Regions from separate parts of the Homo sapiens genome. Here region 1 is linked to region 2. The links are contacts of gene promoters, found by promoter capture Hi-C in blood cells and fetal thymus (Javierre and others, 2016). All regions are on one chromosome and are shown on one strand. The core of a region is centred on a gene start or on the middle of the fragment in contact, and the rest is flanking DNA. Distances in the headings are between cores, read along the strand shown.

What was found. Contacts are between HindIII fragments. The CHiCAGO score rates a contact against its expected background, and 5 or more counts as called.
Region 1: a fragment that was not itself captured here is called in contact with the fragment with the promoter of PITPNC1 in region 2 in 2 of 17 cell types (total CD8 T cells and naive CD8 T cells); the score reaches 6.4 in total CD8 T cells.

Annotation. Positions count from the first base shown.
Region 1 is chr17:67,484,901-67,490,875 of GRCh38, reverse strand. All of the region lies in intron 1 of PITPNC1 (phosphatidylinositol transfer protein cytoplasmic 1), which reads right to left. Among named protein-coding and RNA genes, the nearest start is that of MIR548D2, 16 kb to the right of the region's middle. RefSeq lists enhancers at 1,364-1,603, 3,453-3,542. The HindIII fragment of the contact is 1,626 bases long and covers 1,251-2,876 here.
Region 2 is chr17:67,373,339-67,379,432 of GRCh38, reverse strand. PITPNC1 (phosphatidylinositol transfer protein cytoplasmic 1) reads right to left here and starts at 2,152. Exons shown (of 9, transcript NM_012417.4): 1 at 1,231-2,152. The coding sequence starts at 1,278. RefSeq lists silencers at 298-657, 768-1,067, 1,078-1,497, 1,848-2,097, 2,148-2,267 and 1 more and an enhancer at 1,653-2,346. The HindIII fragment of the contact is 18,019 bases long and covers 1-6,094 here.

The DNA.
Region 1 (5,975 bases), core at 814-3,313, 110 kb before region 2:
ATGTTGATATAAACAGCTCTTGGCATCAGGTGGATGGTGTCAGGGAAGTTACTATTTTCGTGGGGACAGAGGCGCTGACGTTCAGCTCCATTGGACCCAGAGTCCTGTGCTATGTTCTCTCGTGACTGACAAAGCCCCCAACTCATTTCTCCCTGGGGACGACATTCCTGCTTTCTTATTCATTACGGATCCTTTGAGATTTTTATTTCGTATCCTTTTATTTACTGATCAGAGCTGCCCTGAAGGCTTCTTCTGGGACACCAGAAACTCCCAGCAGTCCCCTGCCTGCGGGGAGGCTCTTCATCCCAAAGCTCATTATTGTTAGAACAGGATGGGTTCACACCCGGGGGCTCTCTCTCCAAGCCTCCTCACTCCCCATCAATTCCACCTGTTCATTCAGAGTCGTGGTATGTCAGAGCTAGAGGGGACATTTTTAAAAAAATCATTAATTTCATTCTTTTATCTGGTTTGCCAATCTATGCCCTAATTTTAAAGCCAAGATTTAAAAAAAAACAAAACAAAAAACAAAAAACCAACAACAACAAACTGAGATCCTGCCAAGTTAAATAATTCATTATCCCTGGTTAGATAATAACACACACACACACACAAGTATGACCCAGGTCTCCTCATTCTTAGCTCCAAAGTTACATAATGCATCCTCATTCCTCATTCTTAGCTCCAAAGTTACATAATGCATCCTCGTTAATTAAAACACACACACACACACACACACACACACACACACACACACACACACACAGAAAAGCCTGTTTCCAAATCTTTAAACCTTGGGCTGAGATGTACAAATCTGAAGATATGCTCCAAAGAAATAACCTGGCTGGGTGTGGTGGCTCACGCCTGCAATCCCAGCATTTTGGGAGACCGAGGGGGATGGATCACTTGAGGTTCGAGACCAGCCTGGCCAACATGGTGAAACCCCGTCTCTACTAAAAATACAAAAATTAGCCGGGCGTGGTGGTGCACACCTGTAATACCAGCTACTCGGGAGGCTAAGGTGGGAGGATTGCTAGAACCTGGCAGGAAGAGGTTTCAGTGAGCCAAGATCCTATCACTGCACTCTAGCCTGGGACAGAGCGAGACTCCATCTCAAATTAAAAAAGAAAAAGAAAAAAGAAATAACCAAAAAGACAACAGACAGCATGAAAGGGATTGAGAAAAGGTTCGGGTTCAGTAATTCACTTGGGTGCTACAGAACCCTGGCTGCATATTAGACTCGCCTGGAAGCTTTCAAAAGTCCCCATGCTGAGGCCAGGACTCAAACCAATGAAATCAGAATCTCTAGAGGCGGGATCAGAGGCGGGGTCTGGACATCAATAAGCCACAAGGTGAATCCCGTGAGCAGCTAACATGAAACATCATTGATTTACCAGACTTGAGGCCACCATAACTGTATAGTGACCACAATCTTTGTCATCCAAGGAAGAAAAGGAGAAGGAAGGAGTCATTTATAGCCCATGATCTTTAGTTCATTCTGAGATCCTCTCTGTGCTTTTGGGGGTTCATCAGATGTAGGGTCAAACTGAGAAGGTCTACACTGGTGATCTCACCCTGGAACAGGGCCACTCTTCCATACCACATCTGTGAGGACAGAGGCCTATGGGCTGTACCTGGAGGCAAAAGGAGACGGAGCAAACAATCCAGCCCAGTAAGTACTCCTAGGGTGGCTCTCCCAAGTTCTCAAGATACTTTTCTTTTTTAAAAAAGGAGTCTGTTACCGTATGACCCATCAATTCCAATTCTGGGAAAGTACCCCAAAGAACAGAAAGCAGAGGCTCAAACAGGTATTTGTATAACTGTGTTCATGGCAGTACTATTCACAATAGTCAAAAGGTGGAAACAACCCATGTCCATCCACGGAGGGATGGATGGATGAACAAAACATGGTATATCCGTACAATGGAATATTATTCACTCCTGAAAAGGAAGGAAATTCTGATACACACTACCACACAGATGCACCTTGAGGATATTACGCTAAGAGAAATAAGCCAGATAGATACACAAGGACAAATACAGTGTGATTCTACTTATGTGAGTACCTAGAGTAGTCAAACTCAGGGACAGAAAGTGGCTCTGAAATTCAGAGACGGGCGGCTGCCAGGGGCTGCCAGGAGGGGAACAGGCAGTTACCACTGAACAGGCACAGAGTTTCAAGATGCAGAGTTCTGCAGATGGATAGTGGTGATACTGGTACAACGATAGGAATGCACTTAATAACACAGAACTGTACATTTAAAAATGGTTAAGATGGTAAATTTTGTTACATGTCTTATCTCCATTTGGAAAAGTGAACAAAAAAAGAGCCCACATGTGGCCCTTCCTTCGTTCGCTCAGGCATTGATGAAGGTGACTGAGGACAGAATTTCAAAGGTTAATGTGTCATCTGTAAAACACAGCACACACCAGGCCCCTGGACTCTGTTCTGCAGGATTGACTGACTCCAAGAGTTACAGAGCCTTGTAACTCCCCCGGGGCACAGGGAGGGCCGTCTGGCAGGCCTCTGGGTTCACATTATATAACAACCGGGCTGCCAGCTTCCAAGCAACACGAGGTGAATTCCGAAGCGCTCCACGCCTAGGATGAGCCAAGTGTTGATTAATTCCCAAATAACTTTATCGTGGGGACTTTTTCTGATTCCCAAATGCAGTGATGCCGCTTATTTGTCAGTTGAGAAATCTGTATTTTTCTGCGATGGGTTGACTCAATGTATTTTTAAAGAGGGACTTACCTTTCATCTTTTCTTTCCTTTTTGCTTAGTATTCTAGGGGCAAAGAAAAACTTCAGCAAGGAGAAAATCCCGCCAGCAACAGCTCTTTTGAGCTGCTCGGTAATCCAAACCTTTCAAGTAAGCTTTCTCCTTTACTGACACCTCTGTGACAGACAGAAAAGAAAAAATCGTAGCTTCTCTCTGATCAGTGGTCCTAACCCTTTTCTTCAATCAGCAGTCCGTGATGATCCTATACAGGGTATAAGATGCGAAGACATCTCCTGGGAGAAATTACTTAGGCCCTGGAGGCTGATCCCAAACCCCAAGTGTGTGAACTCTGGCCGTGCATCTAAATAAACACATCCTGCTCCCCCACCCTCAGACCAGTGGCCCCCAGAACAGCGCTTACACTTGGCCTAGAAAGCCTGTCCTGATGATTCACCATGAAGCCCAAAGTTTGGCAGCCGGAAAAACTTAAACTTTCCCCCTTTCTTAGAGTTTACAAATTAACAGTCCCTGAGAAGTCAATCATTCAACAGAAGTTGGATTAAACACCTTTCACTTGGGCATCCTCCTGAGCTCAGATGGATACAGAGAAACACTCGCTTGTTTCTTCGAGGTAAAATTTTGCAAAATAAATTTCTGTAAATCTGAGCAATAACAAAAAGGAGGCTGGGTGTGGTGGCTCATGCCTGTAATCCCAGCACTTTGGGAGGCCGAGGTGGGTGGATCGTTTGAGGCCAGGAGTTCGAGATCAGCCTGGTCAACATGGTGAAGCCCCACCTCTACTAAAAATACAAAAATTACCCTGGTGTGGTGGTGAGTGCCTATAATCCCAGCTAATCAGGAGGCTGTGGCAAGAGAATTGCTTGAACCTGGGAGGCAGAGGTTGCAGTGAGCTGAGATCGTGCCACTACACTTCCGCCTGGGTGACAAAGCGAGAACCTGTCAAAATAAACAAAAACAAAAAAGGGAAGTGGTTGGGGTGGTCTAACATAAAAATGGTGTGATTTGTCTGTAATGGACTTCAAACTAGTACTCATATTTTATGATGTTGGTTTTCTTTTTCATACAGCTACATAAGAATGAATTCCACAGTACTCTTTTTTTTTTAGACAGAGTCTTGCTCTGTTGCCCAGGCTGGAGTGCGGTGGTGCAGTCTCAGCTCACTGCAACCTCCGCCTCCCAGGTTCAAGTGATTCTCCTGCCTCAGCCTCCCAAGTAGCTGGGATTACAGACATGCACCACCACGCTCAGCTAATTTTTGTATTTTTAGTAGAGATGGGGTTTCACCACGTCTGGCCTCCACAATACTCTTGAATGCAGAACATGCCACACTCGGGACTCCAGGAGACACCCTGAAAGGCAAGAGAGGAGGAGGTTTCCTGGATGCCCCTAACTGTCTGCTCTCACCGCCCTAAATGCATAGACACTTTTCAGTCAACCACATTCCTCGTTATGTGTCTACAGATTCAAAACGTCACCTTTCTGCCTCCCTGCCATTTGCTTGTCCTTGGATAAAAAGGAGAAGACCTCTTTGCTTATAACTATCACTCATGCTTTGTGATTTCTACAAGGCTGTCTGTAGTCCTTGGAATTCTGGAACCATGGAACATATGGACAGCAGTATCCCAGCTGTACTTTGCTACCATCTCCGATCAATGCCATCTTCTCATTAGGATTTGTGGGCAGACACAAGCTTAGCAAGACTACATACAGACTTGCCATAGGAGGAAGAAGAGGTCTATTTTTCTACATTACTCATTAAAGGCAGGCTAAGCATCAGATGTAATAGAATAGCCTATTCCTTCCTTTGCCCACAGCGAGACTTCAACTCATGAAAACACCACCATCAATATATATTGAGTGTTCATTATATATATATAGCCCAAGACTAAGATAATATACTCTATTTCAAAACACTGCCAAAACTCCGAGAACATTTTTTGGCACATTTAAACAGCAGAATGACCATAAATTATGTAAAGGGAGAATTTTCTGAGTACATGTCAGGAAAAAATAAAATAAAAACCTCTAGCAGCAGAATTTAATGCTTAATAACTCTCATGCTAAAGTTTCAGTTTAATCAATTGTGACTTTTGATATTTTATTTAATGCGTCTAAGGAGCATCACCAGAAGAAATTTTAATACTATTGCTTCTAAATTCAATTAGAATGCTTACATTTTTATGTTAGGGTAACATTTGCAGAGCCATTCTTTAATACGCAAGTTATTAAATCCCACGGTCCCTTAATCCACATTGCAGACTAATCTAATGCATTTAAGCCGCCCCCAGAAGACAGCCTTCAGCTTGTGGCTCATACAGCGTGATAGCTTTTGCTCTTTTTTTGACCGAAGAAGTCATTTTTCTTTCCTCTTGACATCTTAAGAGTCATCTTTAATAATGTTTTTCTGTAGTTCCAATGTCCCTCAACTCCTGATCTTACAGACTAAATTGGCAAGTCAGTTGTTCTTCCGTAGAAAGATCTAACTAATTGGCCGGGTGCGGCGGCTGAGACCAGTAATCCCAGCACTTTGGGAGGCTGAGGTGGGTGGATAGAGACCAGCTTGGCCAACATGGTGAGACCCCATCTCTACTAAAAATACAAAAATTAGCCAGGGGTGGTGGTGAGTGCCTGTAATCCCAGCTACTCAGGAGGCTGAGGTAGGAGAATCGCCTGAATCCAGGAGGCGGAGGTTGCTGTGAGCCAAGATCACACCACTGCCTGGGCGACAGAGCAGTGCCTATGTCAAAAAAAAAAAAAAAAAAAAATCACCCAACTAATGATGACTCTCAGTACACAATTCTAGTTCATGGCCTAGCAGATACCCTAGTGCAAAATCCACAAATCCGGAATGAAAATGTAAGCATCCATGCCTTCCAGCATGCTCCATGCTTTTCCCACTGCGCTCATGGTAAATGCTCCCCATGGCATCACCACCGGGAACCAAACACATGCATACATACGTATATGAAGACAGTTTAGCCAAGTGGTTAAGAGTGAGGACCCTGTGGCTACACTGCCCAGGTTCAAATCCTGGCTCTACCACTCCTTACCAACCTCAGGGAAGTCACTTGACCTTTCTGAGTTTTCCATTTCCCTATTTGTAAGATGGAAACGCTAGTCATAATCAACTTTCTTGGCACAACGATCAAGAGTCAAAATAAACCAATATGTAAAAATGGTTTTGGAAGTTTTTTTTTTGAGATGGAGTCTCGCTCTGTCACCCAGGCTGGAGTGC
Region 2 (6,094 bases), core at 903-3,402:
AGCTACTTTGATCTTGTCTTGGATTGTACTTGGGTCTTACCTTAACCCTTGGTCCAGATGGCAAATACGGACAGCCCCTGTGAGCTCAGCCATGTTCTCAGTTATGCATCTTTTTCTCTCCCAAAGCACATCGCCCCTCTCACCAAGTAGTGGCTCAAAAACATATCTGATAGTTTCGAGGCACCAGATTTAAATATAAAGACGGTCTGGGTGGCTGATTTCATGTGTGTTGCCACACCAAACCACACTAGTGAGTTTCACGTTGCCTTGCTTGGCTTTGGGCTCCCTCGCTGTCCCTGGACAGAGACGCTCAGCAGTCGTGGAATCACCACAAAGGTGGGGAGGAAGAAGGGGAAGAAAGGGAAGCCGGGGCCGGAATAATCCTATCTGAGTCACCACTTCCTGAATACTGGAGCTCGCGGCTTCGCAGGATCGGGAGAAGGACAGCAGAGCCGCGCTTGGAGGACGAGCCCCCGCCCCGCGCCCGGCGCCCCCAGCCGGCAGCCGCGGCCCCGGCACCACGTGCTGGAGCGCCCTCCTGTGGCCGCGTCGCAGCCCCCGCCGCTCCCGGCTCGCGCGCCGCTCCCCGCGGCGGAAGAAACAAGAGACGCAGAAAGTTTCCGAGCCAGGCGGTTTGCGAAAGGACACAGCCGGGTCCCGAGCCTCGAAGGGCGGACGTGCCGGGAGCTGCGCCCAAGCCCGCGGCGACGGCGAGAAGTCGGGCCCCGCAGGGACCTCCCCTAAGGGCTCAGAGGTTCCTCCCGCGGGGCTCGGGGCGTGCAGATCCCGAGGGCGCAGGGCTCCTCCTCGCACCCCTACCTGACCGCAGAGGGCGGGGAGGGGAGGCTGGGCCCACGGCCAGGACGGGATGCCCCCCAAACCCCAGCTACAGCGCGCGCCGGGGGCTCTTGGGTTTGGTTTATTCATTTTCTTATTTGGAGGGAGGGGGCGCACCCACTCCCTTTGGCTCATAGTGATCCCCAACAGTCTGGATTCTGGGCGCCCCCGAAAAGCCCACCCGGAGTCCGCCGCCCCACCCAGCGCCGCCCTCCCCCGCTGGGGTGACAAGTGGAAGCCGCAAATCCCCTCCCTCCTCTCCTCCAGGCTTCGGGTTTGCGGGGTAACGTCCACCTGGGTTTCCTGCCGCTCGCCCGGGGCTCGCCGGCCAGGAGGCGGCGGTAGCGGCGGGGGTCCCGGAGCGGGCGAGGCCGGGCCGGGCGCGGCGCTTACCTCGTCTACGGTGAGCGGCATGCAGATCCGGTACTCTTTCAGCAGCATGGTCCTGCCGGCCGCGGACCCCCGGGGCGGGAAGCGGGGGGCGCCCCCAAGACCAGCAAGGCTGCTGCCCAGGCGCAGGGCAGGGCGCCCGGAGCCCGGCGCTCGGAGCCGGAGGGCGAAGCAGCCCCCGCGGCGCGCTCAGCTCCTGGCTTCCTCCTCTCCGCCCCAGAGCATGTCAGGGTTTGGGTCTGGGTGTTCGCAGCTCCCCCGCCTCCTCCCTCGCCGAGGCCGGTCCTCCCGGAACGCGGTGTTGCAAAGTCAGGGAGGCAGGGAGGGAGACCCGCTGGGGACGACTCTGCTCGGCTGCCCAGGGTGGTAGGAGCGGCCGCCAGATCAGGACATGCCCGGCAGCGAGCGAGGGAGGAAAAAAGAGAGATTTCCAAAAATTAAAACGAATGCACAAAAGTCACCCGCTCGATCCGCCTCCGAAAGCAGACGGGAACCTGGCGACCCCCCTCCTCCGGCGGGTCTGCCCGATGCTAATGTCACCAGGAACACATTGCAGCCGGAGCCGGAGATGCTGACTTTCCAGACAAAGGCTCGATCGGCTTCTCTCCGCGGGCGGTAAACAAGATTTCCTGCTCTTTTTAGGGCCGGTCCCCGCGCCGCTCCGGGGCTCGGCTCGGGGAGAAAAGGGAAGCCGCCGCCGCCGCCGCCGCTCGGCTCTGCCCGGCTGGGGCCCCGGGCGCCTCCAACCTCGGCTCGCGGCTGCCAGGGGCGGGCGGGAGGAAGCTGGCGCCTTCCGCGCGCGTCCCCTCCCCCGAGTCCCTCGGCTCCCCGGGCGCCGTGCGTGCCCGCGAGTTTGCAGCCACCTCGCCGGGGCCGGAGCGTCCGCGCCGATGCAGTGTGCCTGGGGCCGGGAGGTGGGTGCGGGAGGAGCGAGCGCGAGCGAGGCTGACATCAGCAGCGGCCGCGGCGGGGAGGGTAGCCCCATCCGGCCAATGGGGAAATGGCAAAGAATGTGGAGGATTTAAACAAAACAGCATGTCTCTGCCAGACGGCGGGGCTGCTCCGGAGCGGAGCCCGGCCGGCGCTGGGGAGGCTCGGGCAGAGGGGCTTTCCTCGGCTCCTTTGCCCTTTGAATCCGCTCTCCATTGTGCCCTGAGTGCTGCCGTGCTCCATCCAGCCCCTCTGGGAAGTTTCTGGTCCCCTGACCCTAGGGACAAGTCACCAATGCCCACCACCTATGTGTGGTCCAGTAAGCAAGTCTGGGGCTGGAGAGGCAATGGGTGGGATTTGGGAACAAACCCTTGCCTGGTTTCAGAGGAGAGATCCTGGAAAACTGGGAAGTGCAGCCGTGTGAATGGAAATGAAGTACAAACGGGGAGGGAACAACCAGAGAGAACATGAACCCCACGTAGCCTGTTACCTCGCCTGGCCCGGCTCTGCAATCTTTCTGCAGATTGTGCAGGCTCCGCGCAGCAGAAAGAAAGAGTAGGTTTTCGTATCCGCACTCCTAAGTTCAAAAAGTCACAGTGAAATGTCAATGAAAATGCCTGGAGTGTTGCTATTTGATCCATATTAAACAGATCTCTCATTTTAACCACAAGAAGCACATTCTTCAGTTACTCAGGAAGCAGCATGGAACTGCTGAAGTCTGTTTTTCATTTGTCTGGTATTTTTCAGCTTGTTTTTATGAAAAGTTGCCGGATGAAAAATGCATCAGTTGCCTGTATGAGAATAACCTGTAAGCGTTATCTTTTCTCCGAAAAATCTTCACGCTCTGAAGTCCTGAAGCTAGAGCTTAGATGGCGATGCAGATGCCTCAATACAGTATTTTGAATTGTGTTTAATTAATAAGTAATTAACCAATATGACGATGATGGGCTTGTGGCAAAAGTCATCCAGAGGGCTGGAGAGAATTTATAACTGTTAACTGATACAAACCCTCCTAGGAAAATGATACCCTATATCCAGCTTATATTTTAGTGGAAACTATTTTCCAGATAAATGCTTTCCAGAGTTGGCTCAGAAATATTCACAGCAACTAATTAAAGCTAAACCAAATTCCTCGAGGTGGAAAATCTAAATCTGACACTGCAGTGTTGAATAATAACACATTGGAAGGCTGTGATATGGAAAGAAACTCAAGCTGTTTTTCCTTTTTTTTTTTTTTTTTTTGCTTCTTACTTGAAAACAAATGGAAGACCTAATAATCTTCCCAGAGGCAGGAAGGCAAGGGATTGGCTAGCCACACATGCGCATGCACTTGGGACATCGGGATGTGTAGGCTCAGTTCCTGGCTTCCTGGACATTTCCTGACACTGATTCTGGAAGGAAGTATTCTACTGACGGGTGACACTGTTGAGGAGCTACTTCTCTGAATTTCCCGAACTGTAAATTGTCACATATATGCTTCCTCCATCATCCGTCTTGTTGCTGTTATTGGTTTGTGATGGAGTTTCGCTCTTGTTGCCCAGGCTGGAGTGCAATGGCATGATCTCGGCTCACTGCAACCTCCACCTCCCGGGTTCAAGCAAGTCTTCTGCCTCAGCCTCTGGAGTAGCTGGGATTACAGGCACCGGCCACCACGCCTGGCTAATTTTGTATTTTTAGTAGAGATGGAGTTTCACCATGTTGGTCAGGCTGGTCTCAAACTCCTGAGCTCAGGTGATGGCCTCGGCCTCCCAAAGTGCTGGGATTACAGGTGTGAGCCACCGCGCCCAGCCCACCCCTCCTGTTGTAAGGTGACTTCTCCATTGGATTCTCATTTTCTTTTCATTCATTGCATCCGCAAACCTGGTCATATTAATCTTGTGCAAGTACAGCTCTCATCCTGCCACCTTCAAACCTTTTAGTGATTCCTGGCTGGGCTCGGTGGCTCACCCCTGTAATCCCAGCACTTTGGGAGGGGAGGTGGGCCGATCGCATGAGCCCAGGAGTTCAAGACCAGCCTGGGAAACATGCTGAAACCCTGTCTCTAAAATTTAAAAATATATAAAAACCTTTTAGGGCTTCTCTATGGCCTACTGAGCAAGTCAAAATGCTTTGGTAGGAGGTTCAAGGCTCTGGATCTACCTTTCCCACATTAGTCCATTACCCTTCCCAGCCCAACTCCAGCCAAATGAGACGAGTCAGTTGGCTGCAAAAGCCCCTCCTCCCCGGCCACCTTTCTAGCTCAACCCTTCTGCTGTTCAACCCGTTGCCTTCACAGAGAATCCCTCTCCCCAATTCAATCCCCATGACACCATTTTAAAGCCAGGCCTTGGCAATCTGCGCTTCAGACAGTGGTTCTGATAGCAGTGAGCTGGAGGGGCTAGCAGAGGCGGGAGGGGCTGGTGCAGGGCATAGGGAGGGCATATTCATTCATAAGTCATGCACACTGAGGGCGGGGCGCGCCATCTACTGGCCAAGCACTGTGGTTTTAAGTCCTGTCCTCAGCAAGTGTCTGGCAAGAATTGTATCTTTGTTTCTTCTCAACCAATGAAGTCGCAATATCTACTTACGAAGAGCCTTGAAGCTGTTGCTATCATCATTATGGACAGTCATGATGTTCCATTAACAATGTACAATCTGCCGTGGCTGATCATCACATTTTTTTAAATGGGGGTGGGACACAAAAGGCAAAAAGAGGAACAAAACAGTAAAGTTACCAGAGAGGAATGATAAGACAAAGAGGAAAAGAATATGAGGCTGTGCATGTCTGTGACAGCATCTGTTCTCAGATAAGTGACAGTCTCTGAAAGCAGGGGTTCTCAAAACGCAGGAGGGGGTATGGCACACCAAGATAATCTAAGAAGACTGTCAACCTATTCTCTTCGAGGCATTCTGATGATCTCTTTAATCCTCCATGTCTGTGTGAAAAAACTAATAAGGTCTTGACCCACCTCTGTAAACAGCCTCTGAAAGAAAAGTGTACTAACAGGAATTTCTGACGATTAAAAAATGAAGGCCGGGCATGGTGGCTCACGCCTGTAATCCCAACACTTTGGGAGGCCGAAGTGGGCGAATCACTTGAGATCAGAAGTTCGAGACCACCCTCGCCAATATGGTGAAACCCCGTCTCTACTAAAAATACAAAAAGTAGCTAGGCGTGGTGGCTCGCGCCTGTAGTCCCAGCTACTTGGGAGGCTGAGGCAGGAGAATTGCTTGAATCTGGGAGGCGGAGGTTGCAGTGAGCCGAAATCATGCCACTGCACTCCAGCCTGGGTGACAGAACAAGACTCCATCTCAAAAAAAAAAAAAAAAGATTTGTCCCTTCTCTATATATATTTATTCAAATATATATATATATATATATATATATATATATATATATATATCTGTGTGGATTTGTGCTTATTTATTCTATACTTCAAGTTATAATCAACATTATGTTATTTATTTTGCTGCTCAGACAGTTCCAGCATTGGCTGTTGGGAGCTCTTTCTGGTTGGCTCCTATGTGCTTTTGACATGGCCTCTTTTTGTTTTTTGTTTTTTGGTTTTTTTTTTTTTGAGCCGGAGTCTTGCTCTGTCACCCAGGCTAGAGTGCAATGGCTTGATCTCAGCTCACTGCAACCTACGCCTCCCAGGTTTATGCGATTCTCCTGCCTCAGCCTCCCAAGTAGCTGGGATTACAGGCATCCGCCACCACGCCCGGCTAATTATTTGTATTTTTAGTAGAGACGGGGTTTCACCGTGTTGGCCAGCTGGTCGCGAACTCCTGACCTCAGGTGATCCACCCGCCTCGGCCTCCCAGAGTGCTGGGATTACAGGCGTGACCCACGGTGCCCGGCCAACATGGCCTCTTTTTTATAACATTTTAAAAATCAAATGTTATTCTTGCATTTTTTTTCTTTTTTTTTTTTTTGAGACAGGGTCTCACTCTGTCACCC